2 separate regions of the Homo sapiens genome follow, and region 2 is linked to region 1. The links are contacts of gene promoters, found by promoter capture Hi-C in blood cells and fetal thymus (Javierre and others, 2016). All regions are on one chromosome and are shown on one strand. Each heading gives the region's core, a stretch centred on a gene start or on the middle of the fragment in contact. The rest is flanking DNA. Distances are from core to core; before and after follow the strand shown. Region 1 holds the start of KDM5C (lysine demethylase 5C). Region 2 overlaps KCND1 (potassium voltage-gated channel subfamily D member 1).

Region 1 (4,460 bases), core at 1,945-4,444:
CTAAACCAATGTTCTCATTTTATAAATGGGGAAAGTGAGGCTCAGAGAAAAAAAGTGAAATTTCCAAAATTACATGCTGAGTTAGTGGTGGGGCCAAGAACCCACGTCTTCTGACCTCTGATCCAAGGCCTTTGCACTACACCAGACATCAATGTTCATACATACATGCATACACGTGGGCGGGGGGGAGAGACAGTGAAAGAGAAGAAAAACTGTTGACCTCTTCTGCACACACACTTTTAGAAAATGGGCTAGAGGACTCATATTTTGCATGCATACACAGACCACACTCCCCTGCCCCTACCAGCCAAAGCAGGTGGCAAACATCTGGGGCTCAGTAAGCAGGGACAAAAAAAAAAAAAAACAGGCAGGCCAAAATGGTATGGCTCAAATCCAGACAAGCTCCCCATGCCCTCTTGCCTCTCATCAGGATAGGGCACTCCCCTCAGCACAGGTAACCCAGCTAAAAAGGTGCTCAAACCCAAAACTCCGGGCACCCTTCTTTCCTGCTGAATCAAGTTCTAGACAATCAGTGCAACATCAAGCACCTGACAGGAAATGGCAGCCCTGGAATGCTACGGCAGGAGCCATGGATGCAACAGATACCTGGGAAGGCCCTGCAAACCGCCTGCCTTCATCTCCAGACTACTGTATGCCAAATGTATGTTGGTATTACTGGGATGTGGTGATAAAAAAAAGGCTGGCTACCTGATGAAGAAAGCAAGATCCTTCCAAACTCCACTGGGTCTACTCAGGGTACCCACACTCTCCTCCCACCCATCTTTCCCAAGCGTAGCAGTCACCTGCCCAGCAATTCAGGCCCCAAACCATCCTTCCTCCAGCAAACCTCCAATTCCCAGGTACCCACCCATATACAGGTTCCCACCCTGGGCCCAAGCATCACTTGAGCGAGTACTTCAAACTTCAACCAGAAGAAGGCCAGCTGCCTAAAGGTGGCCTAGGAGCTGCCATAGAGAAGGAAAAAACAAAACCAAACCAGAGAGCCAGGTATCCTGGATTAGAGAGAAGCACACTGTTGAGCAGTGAAAAGGACGGCCTCCTGCTGGCCATGCACACCTGGGACATGTCACTCTTCCCCTTCCTGATGCCCCAAAGCAGGGTAACAACACCTACACAAGGCCAGCCTGCCTAAGTCAGTCCAAGATAGAAAAAAGGAATTCAGGCCTCAACTACCCCCTACGTCAGCTATGCCTCTTTTTCCCACAGGCTTGCCCAACCACTTCAGGGAGTGCCTCCTTGAGGCTGCCCAGGACTCCTGCCTCTCCCTTCCACTAGCCTTCCTGACCCTCTACCCACTGCCACTCCCTCACCATGGACAAGGATACCTCAGAAATCTGTGGCCAGACTCCAAGAAGGAAGAAATTCGCTTACCCAACACCTCCTAGAGGATCTATCTGAAACCATCCTAGATCTGTGGCTGAGCACCAGAAAGCACCAAGTTGGATAAGGAGGCCTGTGGTGCCCTCCTCAGGTGGGAATGAAGCTTCCTATTCCATTTCAGCCAGGAGACACCCACTCAAAAACACCCTTTTCCAGCAAAGCTCAATTTCTGCCCTTGGAATCCCAACTGATCACTGAACATTATCATCACTTTTCCACCATATCAGCAAGGCAGCAGCTTGCCCTAGCCCTTGGGAGACTTCTAGCCTGAAGCCAGGCCTAGGAGGAAAGCTATGGCCTTTGTTGCTGACCCCTGGCAATCATGTTCCAAAAGGGACAGAATTCCATGGCTCCATTCTGTTCTGCGGGCCCAAGAGTGCCCTATCCTCTGGGATCTCCTACATCCTGGACCAGAGGAGAGTAGAAATCTTCTGAGAAGGACTCACACCCCACCACCAAGCTGACCGGTCCAAACATCTCCATAGGAAGTCAAGTCTGCGGGATGATGTGCAGAAAAGGCCTTGACATTGCCTTCAACGAGGAAAAGAAGAGGACAATTCCCTGAACCCACCTCAAGGGAGACAGAGCAATCCCTGTGAGACTGATTTCCTGACTGGTCCAGCAGGCCAGGATATTATCATAGATGAATTGGCCTGGCAAGGTATGAGTAAATATGAGTCAACCTACATAGGAATAAACCAATGACCACATCAAACACCCTCACAGTCACAATAATTACCACTTATCTAGTGCGTACTACATACAGACGCTACCTAGTTTAATTCAATCCTCTAAATAACCATTTCTGGGATCCATTTCACGGGCTCAGAGAGATTACTTCTACTTTCCCAAGGTCACACAGCTGCTCAGCTTCAAAGTGGAGTTTTGAACTCAAGTCTGTCTCCCTTCAGGACTGCGATCTTTCTATTAATACTATACTATGCTGCCTGCCTTAAAGGAAGTGATGACAACAGATTGGAGAAACGTCTTATTTTTACAGCCTCGACCTAGGTGGCCCGGGCTAAGAGATGTGCGGGGTGCCTCTCTGTGAACTCCCTCCGGCCCACTAGGAATCCCTGTCTTAAACCCGGAGTGATTCTGAAGGGCCGGGGTGGGGGTGGATCTCTGACTCCAGGTCACCTGTGGGCCTCACACCACGAGAGGACCCCTGGCCCAACACCCTTTTTCCGATCCGCGCCGCAACCACAACGGTCCCAGCCACCCCCTCTCCCCACCTCGAGCTGCCCTCCGCCCCAGACTTCGCCGCTGGCTATCCTACTGCTTCATTCCGTCTCGCCGCCGGCGAAAACCGGCCCCGGGGCTTACCGCGGGTGGGCGGATCTTGCAAATGCCCGATTTCTCTGCGATGGGCCTGATTTTCGCGATGTAGCCAAGAGGGTCTCGGAACTCGGCCCAGCTAGGCTCGAACACCGGGCACTCCGGTGGCGGTAGGAAATCGTCGGACCCCGGCTCCATGGTGGGCCCGAGGTCTGGGCCAGGGATCGGGAGGCTTGGACCGCCCTTAAGGACTCATGGCGCCGCCGCTGTTTGAAGCCGAGGCAATGCTCGGAGGCTAGGCCCTAAGCGGGGCAGCCGCCGCCCGCCGAGGGCCTAAGGGGGCGTGTGGCCGTCGTGCTCTGAGAGTCTCAGGCTGACTCTACTGCTACCGCCTCTTCGTCCCGCTCCGTTTCTTCCAAACTGTGTGGTTGCCTCCCCACTACCGCAGCCTTCGCCACCACAGTTACCTCCCAAACGCCGCGGCCTTCAGCGCCGCCGCCGCCATCTTGGTTTGTCAGCGTCTCCCCTCCCCACACCACAACAAACCGGATCCTTCCGCGGGGTGTCCTTCCGAGCCTCGTATACGTTGCGTCACACCAAGCCCTAGGAAACCTTCATATAGTGGAGACCGAGCTAAATAGGCTGGTATGGGTTTCTATTTGGAAGGGGTTACTCAAAAGTACCACCCCGGACTGAGAGAAAATAGTTCATTGCAACGGCGGAGGAACAAGATTGTAATTAGTTTGCCGGATCGTCTTTCCGGATGGACCGGCGGTGCACGTTTAAAGGCCAGTGATGCGCATGCGCGTTATGGAGACCGGAAGAGGAGCTGGTGTCCGTGGGTGGTGGAGTCAAACCGGCACTCCCCCGCAGACCTCAACCAGGTCGCTAGCCCCGCACCAGTGTTCTCTGTCCCTTCTCCCTGGTCTTAACGGTATGGGCCGCGGAAGGCGGCTCTGGGAGCCTGATTGCAAAGGACCCCTTATGCTGGCCCGCGGGATGGGGGGAGATGTACTAGGCTCCAGCTCTAGACACTGACACCTCTGGGGCTTTGAAATAAGGAAGGCAGGAAGCTGCTCACTCCCCGGGGATTATGGATTTTTAGGATTCTGAGTCCCAAGTAAAGGAAGGAAATCTTTATTTCATCCAAGGTTACAGGTAGAGAGATGGGGTTTCGATTCTTACCCCCCAAAAGTCACTGGGAGTCAGCATTTTAATGAACGCTTTCAACTGTTCTGTATTCACTTTTACCATGTACACATTTGTGGCATATACTCCTACAAAATAAGCCTGTGTGTATGTATACTTTAACTATTGGATGTTTAGCAACGGCGTATTTATCCAGTGTCAACTGTGTAAAACACCTGTTTGCCCATTTGTGAGCCTACAGTGCACTTACCAAACATCCGTGTACTTTTATTGTATTTATTGTGTATAGCCCCTGTGCATTTGGTACCAACTGTATGTACATTTAGTCCTATCGTGTGCATGTTCCTTGAGCAGTTTCTGAATAGGTTCATTGCAACTACAGTACTTTGAATGAGTATCATCAAACCAGTACTTTGTACATATACATCAGGCATCTACTGATTGGAGGATCATCTGTGTCATTCATCAGCTGTGGACCTACTGCATATAGTTTGAACACCTACTGTGCAAATATTTGAGTACTTGCGTACATGCTGATTAAGTAATTTTGTTTTCCCCCATCAGACTATGAATTCCTTAAGGGCAGGGACCATGTGGCCTTATACATCCTTAGCACTTGGCATGTTAAGCAG
Region 2 (5,077 bases), core at 796-3,295, 4.3 Mb before region 1:
CTGTCAATCCCAAGTCCTGCCAATTCTGCCTCCCAAATCTCTAGACTCTCCAATTCTACTGCCACTACTCTGGTCCAAGCCACTGTCCCCTACCACCTGGACTATTATAAAAGCCTCCACCCTACTTTTCTTCCTTCCAGGACTGTTTCTCTATATCCACTCTCCACAGCCAGAATGATCATTCTGAAACACAAACTTCATCATGAGTTTTCTGTTTAAGTCTTTAGAGGTCCCCACTATCTTTAGGATGAAGTTTAAAATTCGCGTCATAGCTTCAAAGCTTTTTATTATCTAGCCTACCTCTCCATCCTTCCTCTCCTCACAGCCTCACACTCTCCTCCCCAGCTGGACTGAACTACTTTCAGTTCCCCAAAGGCCTGAGCTCACTCTCCAACCTCCAGGTCATTGCACATGCTGTTCCCTCTGCCCAGAACATTGCATCCTTTCATTTGCTGCCTGGCTAACTCCAACTCATTCCCTGTGTGTTGGCCAGGTTAAGTTCTCCTGCCATCTGCATGCCTCTATAACACATGGATCTTAGTTCTGCCACACCATGTTGTAATTACTTGTCTGCCTTCCATGCTCAACTATACATCAGAGACAATGTCTACTTTGCCCACCTTTGTATCCCTAGGGCTGGCACATGATGGAAGTTAATAAATATTTGGTGACTAAATGAATTATCCCTATTTCACAGACTAGCAACCTGAGGCAAGAGAAGGTAAGTGATTCTCTCACCCAGGGATTGGAACCCAGATCAACCTGAATCCATGGTCTGTCTGCTCAGTGCTCTATAGAACTCAGCCACACACTAGCCTAGTGTAGCCAGTAGCCCAGAAGAGAGAATGTAGGGGGCGTCCACAAGGAAGGGAAATTCACCAAACAAAGTGATGCTTTTATTAGGGTTAAATTCAGGGTTGTTTGCTGTCAGGAAGCCTGGGTTTAAGCCTCCTCTAACTAACTATGTGTTTCTCTGGGTCTCAGTTTCCCGATCTGTGAATCAGGAAGCTGGCGCAGATGATATCCAAGGAGGAATGTCTCAGGACCCCCTGGCCTGTCTCACTGGCTGTAGATGAACTCCTCAAACCACACTCTTTCATTTCTCCTGGATCCCCATCTTCCAGAATACATCACCAACCATCCATCTCCCATACCTTGACCCATACCAGCCCTTCTCCTAGCCAAAAGGGATTGAAATCAGAGTGTTTTCAACCCCCAAGCCCAACCCAGCCCCCAAACCCACAGAGCCAGGAGATACTCTCAGTCCTCATCTCTCCTCTCAGGTTTTATTGACTGATGGAAACTACATCTTTGTCAGCCACCAGCTCCATGGGGACAGTGCTGGGGACAGGGAACCTGAGATGATGCCAGATTTCAGCCTGAGAGCAGAGTTTTGGAAGGTCACCCAAGAGGGAGAAGAAAGGAATATGTGAAAAGGAATTGTAGGGGAGGAGGAGGAGGAGAAGTTCCTCCTGTCTCCTATAACTCCCAAAGTTCAGAAACATCCCAGGCCGGAGCCCCTGATGCTTCTGGACTGTTGCCCAAGAACATGGAATCAGCCCATGATCTCCAAATACAGCCCAGCTCTTGCTGGTTGCCAGGCTCTTATCTCAGCCAGTCCAGACTCCAGCCCAACCCAGGAAGGACGCAAACCAGAGGAGAAGAGAGGAGGAGGAGGAGTTAGAGGTGGCCCCTCTGATTAGGGCAGATGTAAATGCTGCAGCAAACTGGTCAGAGGCTTTGCATAATGACACGGCAGCAGCTGCTATTGCTAGAGTTTGCTGGGGGCCCAGCAGAGGACAGGGTTGCGGGGTCCATTTCCAGCAGCCAGGGAAGGGGATGGTAGAATTTGTGCTATCTGAGTGTGTGTTGGGAGAGGCAGCCTGACCCCTCAGGCAAGGCCTGGGGATGGCAGGTCGCTGCAGAGGCCACAGCCCATGAAGCCTGTGTTTGCATTCCAAGCTTCAGAATCTGGGAATTGTTGGGCCAGATGGAGATGAGGACCTCTCGTAGAGGCCAGATCAGAGGTGAGGGTTCTCTTCTCTGAACCTCCAAAGCTCCATATCCCAGCCAGAGGGAGGAGGAAATCTCAACTCTCCTTCTTAGGCTAGAGCTCAGATGTCGGATCAAAGCTTTGCCTTCATCTGAGAGCCCAAGGGGAGGAGCATGCAGGAGTCCAGCTGGGAGAGTGGGGCCAGTCCCAGTGTGCTAGGGCAAGGAGGCCAGGGGCCTGTGGAAGCCCAGTGCTTCAGCTCCCACCAGGAAAAATGTCTGGGGTGGGAGGAAGTTTCTCATTTCCTGGCTACTTCCCCACTATGTGGACCATTTCATGAAACTCCATTGCATAGTTCTCAGTGGGGGGGGCAGAAGGGGTGCCCAAGCCTGCCCCTCTCTGCCTCCCAAAAATATGGCTTTGGAAAGGAGTTCCCAAAAATGAAGAGGACCCTCTGAATCAGCAGGCCTACCCCTCACAGGGATGAGATCTTGACAGTCTCGGGGAAGAGGCAAGGGGTACCCAGGCTGGAGTTCCTGAGGGTGCTGCCGGCCCTGCCACCGCCGCCAGGGGAGGAAGGTTGGCTCTCATCTGGGGTGTTGGCAGGAGGGGTAGGGATGCTGATAATGGCAGCCACGAAGTCCCGGCTGTCGCAGTTCAGGTCAAGGCTGTCATGGGGCTTGGCATTGAGGCTGGAACGGCTGTGGACAAGGGTGGAGAAGATGGAAGGCTCTTAAAAAGTTATCTTAGGCCGGGTGCGGTGGCTCATGCCTGTAATCCCAGCACTTTGGGAGGCCGAGGTGAGTGGATCATCTGAGGTCAAGAGTTCGAGACCAGCCTGACCAACATGATGAAACCCCGTCTCTACTAAATACAAAAAATTAGCTGGGCATGGTGGCGCATGCCTGTAATCCCAGCTACTCGGGAGGTTGAGGCGGGAGAATTGCTTGAACCCGGCAGGCAGAGGTTGCAGTGAGCTGAGATTGCACCACTGCACTCCAGCCTGGGTGACGGAATGAGACTCTGTCTCAACAAAAAAAAAAAAAGAAAAAAAGTTATCAGCCGGGTGCTGTGGCTCATGCCTGTAATCCCAGCACTTTGGGAGGCCGAGGCGGGCGGATCACGAGATCAGGAGATTGAGACCATCCTGGCTAACGCGGTAAAGCCCCATCTCTACTAAAAATACAAAAAATTAGCCAGGCGTGGTGGCAGGCACCTGTAGTCCCAGCTACTCAGGAAGCTGAGGCAGGAGAATGGCGTGAACCCAGGAGGCGGAGCTTGCAGTGAGCTGAGATTGCACCACTGCACTCCAGCCTGGGTGACAGAGTGAGACTCTGTCTCAAAAAAAAAAAAAAAATTAATACTTGCCACAGCAATCATGGCATTTATTGAGCACCTACTGGGTCCCTGGCACTGTGCTAAGTACTTAAGTACTTCTCCTGCATCCCCAATTATGGTGGTAAAGAGTGAGGACTCTAGAGTCAGATAGTCCTGGGTTCAAATCCTGGTCCCACTTTAACCACTCCAAACCTCTCTCTTCTCTCATCTGTAGCATGGGACGAACACTATCTCCCACCTCATAGGGTTGCTGTGGAGATTAAATGAGATTAAAAATGATACGAAGTGCTCAGAGCAGTGTCTGGAACACAATGTGCATACATATGAAAATGCTATCTCTCATGGTTACTCCTAACAGTGTCCAAGTCCTTACAAACTGTCCATAGTAGGATCTAAGGTGGGACCCTCGCTCCTTTCTGAGTTTGCCTCTTACCAGTCTCCCCCAGCTCACTCTCCTCCACCCATGATAGCTTCCTTGCTATGTCTCTAATGTGGACCCACATCTGCCTCAAGGCCTTTGCACAGGCTGTTCACTCTGCTTAGAAAGCTCTTCCTCTAGTTATCTGCATGGCCCACTCCTTTGCCTCCTTCAGGTCTTGGCTCAGTTGTCACCTCAGTAAAGCCTTCTCTGACCACACTACTAAAACTGCATCACCAGCCAAGAGTGGTGGCTCACACCTGTAATCCCAGCACTCTGGGAGGCCGAGGCAGGTGGACCACCTGAAGGTCAGGAGTTTGAGGCCAGCCTGGCCAACATGGTAAAACCCCATCTCTACTAAAAATATAAAAAATTGGCTGGGTGTGGTGGCTCATGCCTGTAATCCCAGCACTTTGGGAGGTCAAAGTGGGCAGATCACAAGGTCAAGAGATTGAGACCAGCCTGGCCAACATGGCGAAACCCTGTCTCTACTAAAAATACAAAAATTAGCTGGGCGTGGTGGCGCGCACCTGTAGTCTCAGCTACTTGGGAGGCTAAGGCAGAGAATTGCTTGAACCCGGGAGGCGGAGGTTCCAGTGAGCCAAGATCGCGCCACCGCACTCCAGTCTGGGCGACAGAGCAGGACTCTGTCTCAAAAATAAATAAATAAATAAAAATAAACATAAAAAAATAAAAATATAAAAAACTAGCTGGGTATGGTGGCGGACACCTGTAATCCCAGCCACTTAGGAGGCTGAGGCAGGAGAATCGTCTGAACCCGGGAGGCAGAGGTTGCAGCAGTGAGCCGAGATCACGCCACTGCACTCTAGCCTGGGCAACAAGAGCAAAACTTCGTCTCAAAAAAAAAAAAAAAAAATGCAGCCAGGCGCGGTGGCTCACGCCTGTAATCCCAGCACTTTAGGAGGCCAAGGCAGGTGGATCATGAGGTCAGGAGATCGATACCATCCTGGCCAACATGGTGAAACCCCGTCTCTACTAAAAATACAAAAATTAGCCGGGTATGGTGGCACGTGCCTGTAGTCCCAGCTACTTGGGAGGCTGAGGCAGGAGAATCGCTTGAACCCGGGAGGCGGAGGTTGCAGTGGGCCGAGATCGCGCCACTGCACTGCAGCCTAGCAACAAGACTCCGTCTAAAAAAAAAAAAAAACTGCATCACCACCCTGCTGTATGCTTTTTTTTTTTTTTTTTAGACAGCGTTTCACTCTTGTTGCCCAAGCTGGAGTGCAATGATGTGATCTCAGTTCACTGGAACCTCCACCTCCCGGGTTCAGGCAATTCTCCTGCCTCAGTCTCCCAAGTAGCTGGGA

The links. Contacts are between HindIII fragments. The CHiCAGO score rates a contact against its expected background, and 5 or more counts as called.
Region 2: a fragment that was not itself captured here is called in contact with the fragment with the promoter of KDM5C in region 1 in 1 of 17 cell types (neutrophils); the score reaches 5.9 in neutrophils.

What each region holds. Positions count from the first base shown.
Region 1 is chrX:53,222,013-53,226,472 of GRCh38, forward strand. It overlaps KDM5C (lysine demethylase 5C), which reads right to left and starts at 3,195. Exons shown (of 26, transcript NM_004187.5): 1 at 2,728-3,195. The coding sequence starts at 2,877. It also overlaps a transcript of IQSEC2 not described here. RefSeq lists enhancers at 2,737-2,836, 3,077-3,456, 3,295-3,589, 3,467-3,516. The HindIII fragment of the contact is 15,929 bases long and covers 1,503-4,460 here.
Region 2 is chrX:48,960,113-48,965,189 of GRCh38, forward strand. It overlaps KCND1 (potassium voltage-gated channel subfamily D member 1), which reads right to left. Exons shown (of 6, transcript NM_004979.6): 6 at 1,268-2,694. The coding sequence ends at 2,469. Among named protein-coding and RNA genes, the nearest start is that of OTUD5, 5.0 kb to the left of the region's middle. RefSeq lists a silencer at 1,476-1,770 and an enhancer at 1,719-1,868. The HindIII fragment of the contact is 170 bases long and covers 1,961-2,130 here.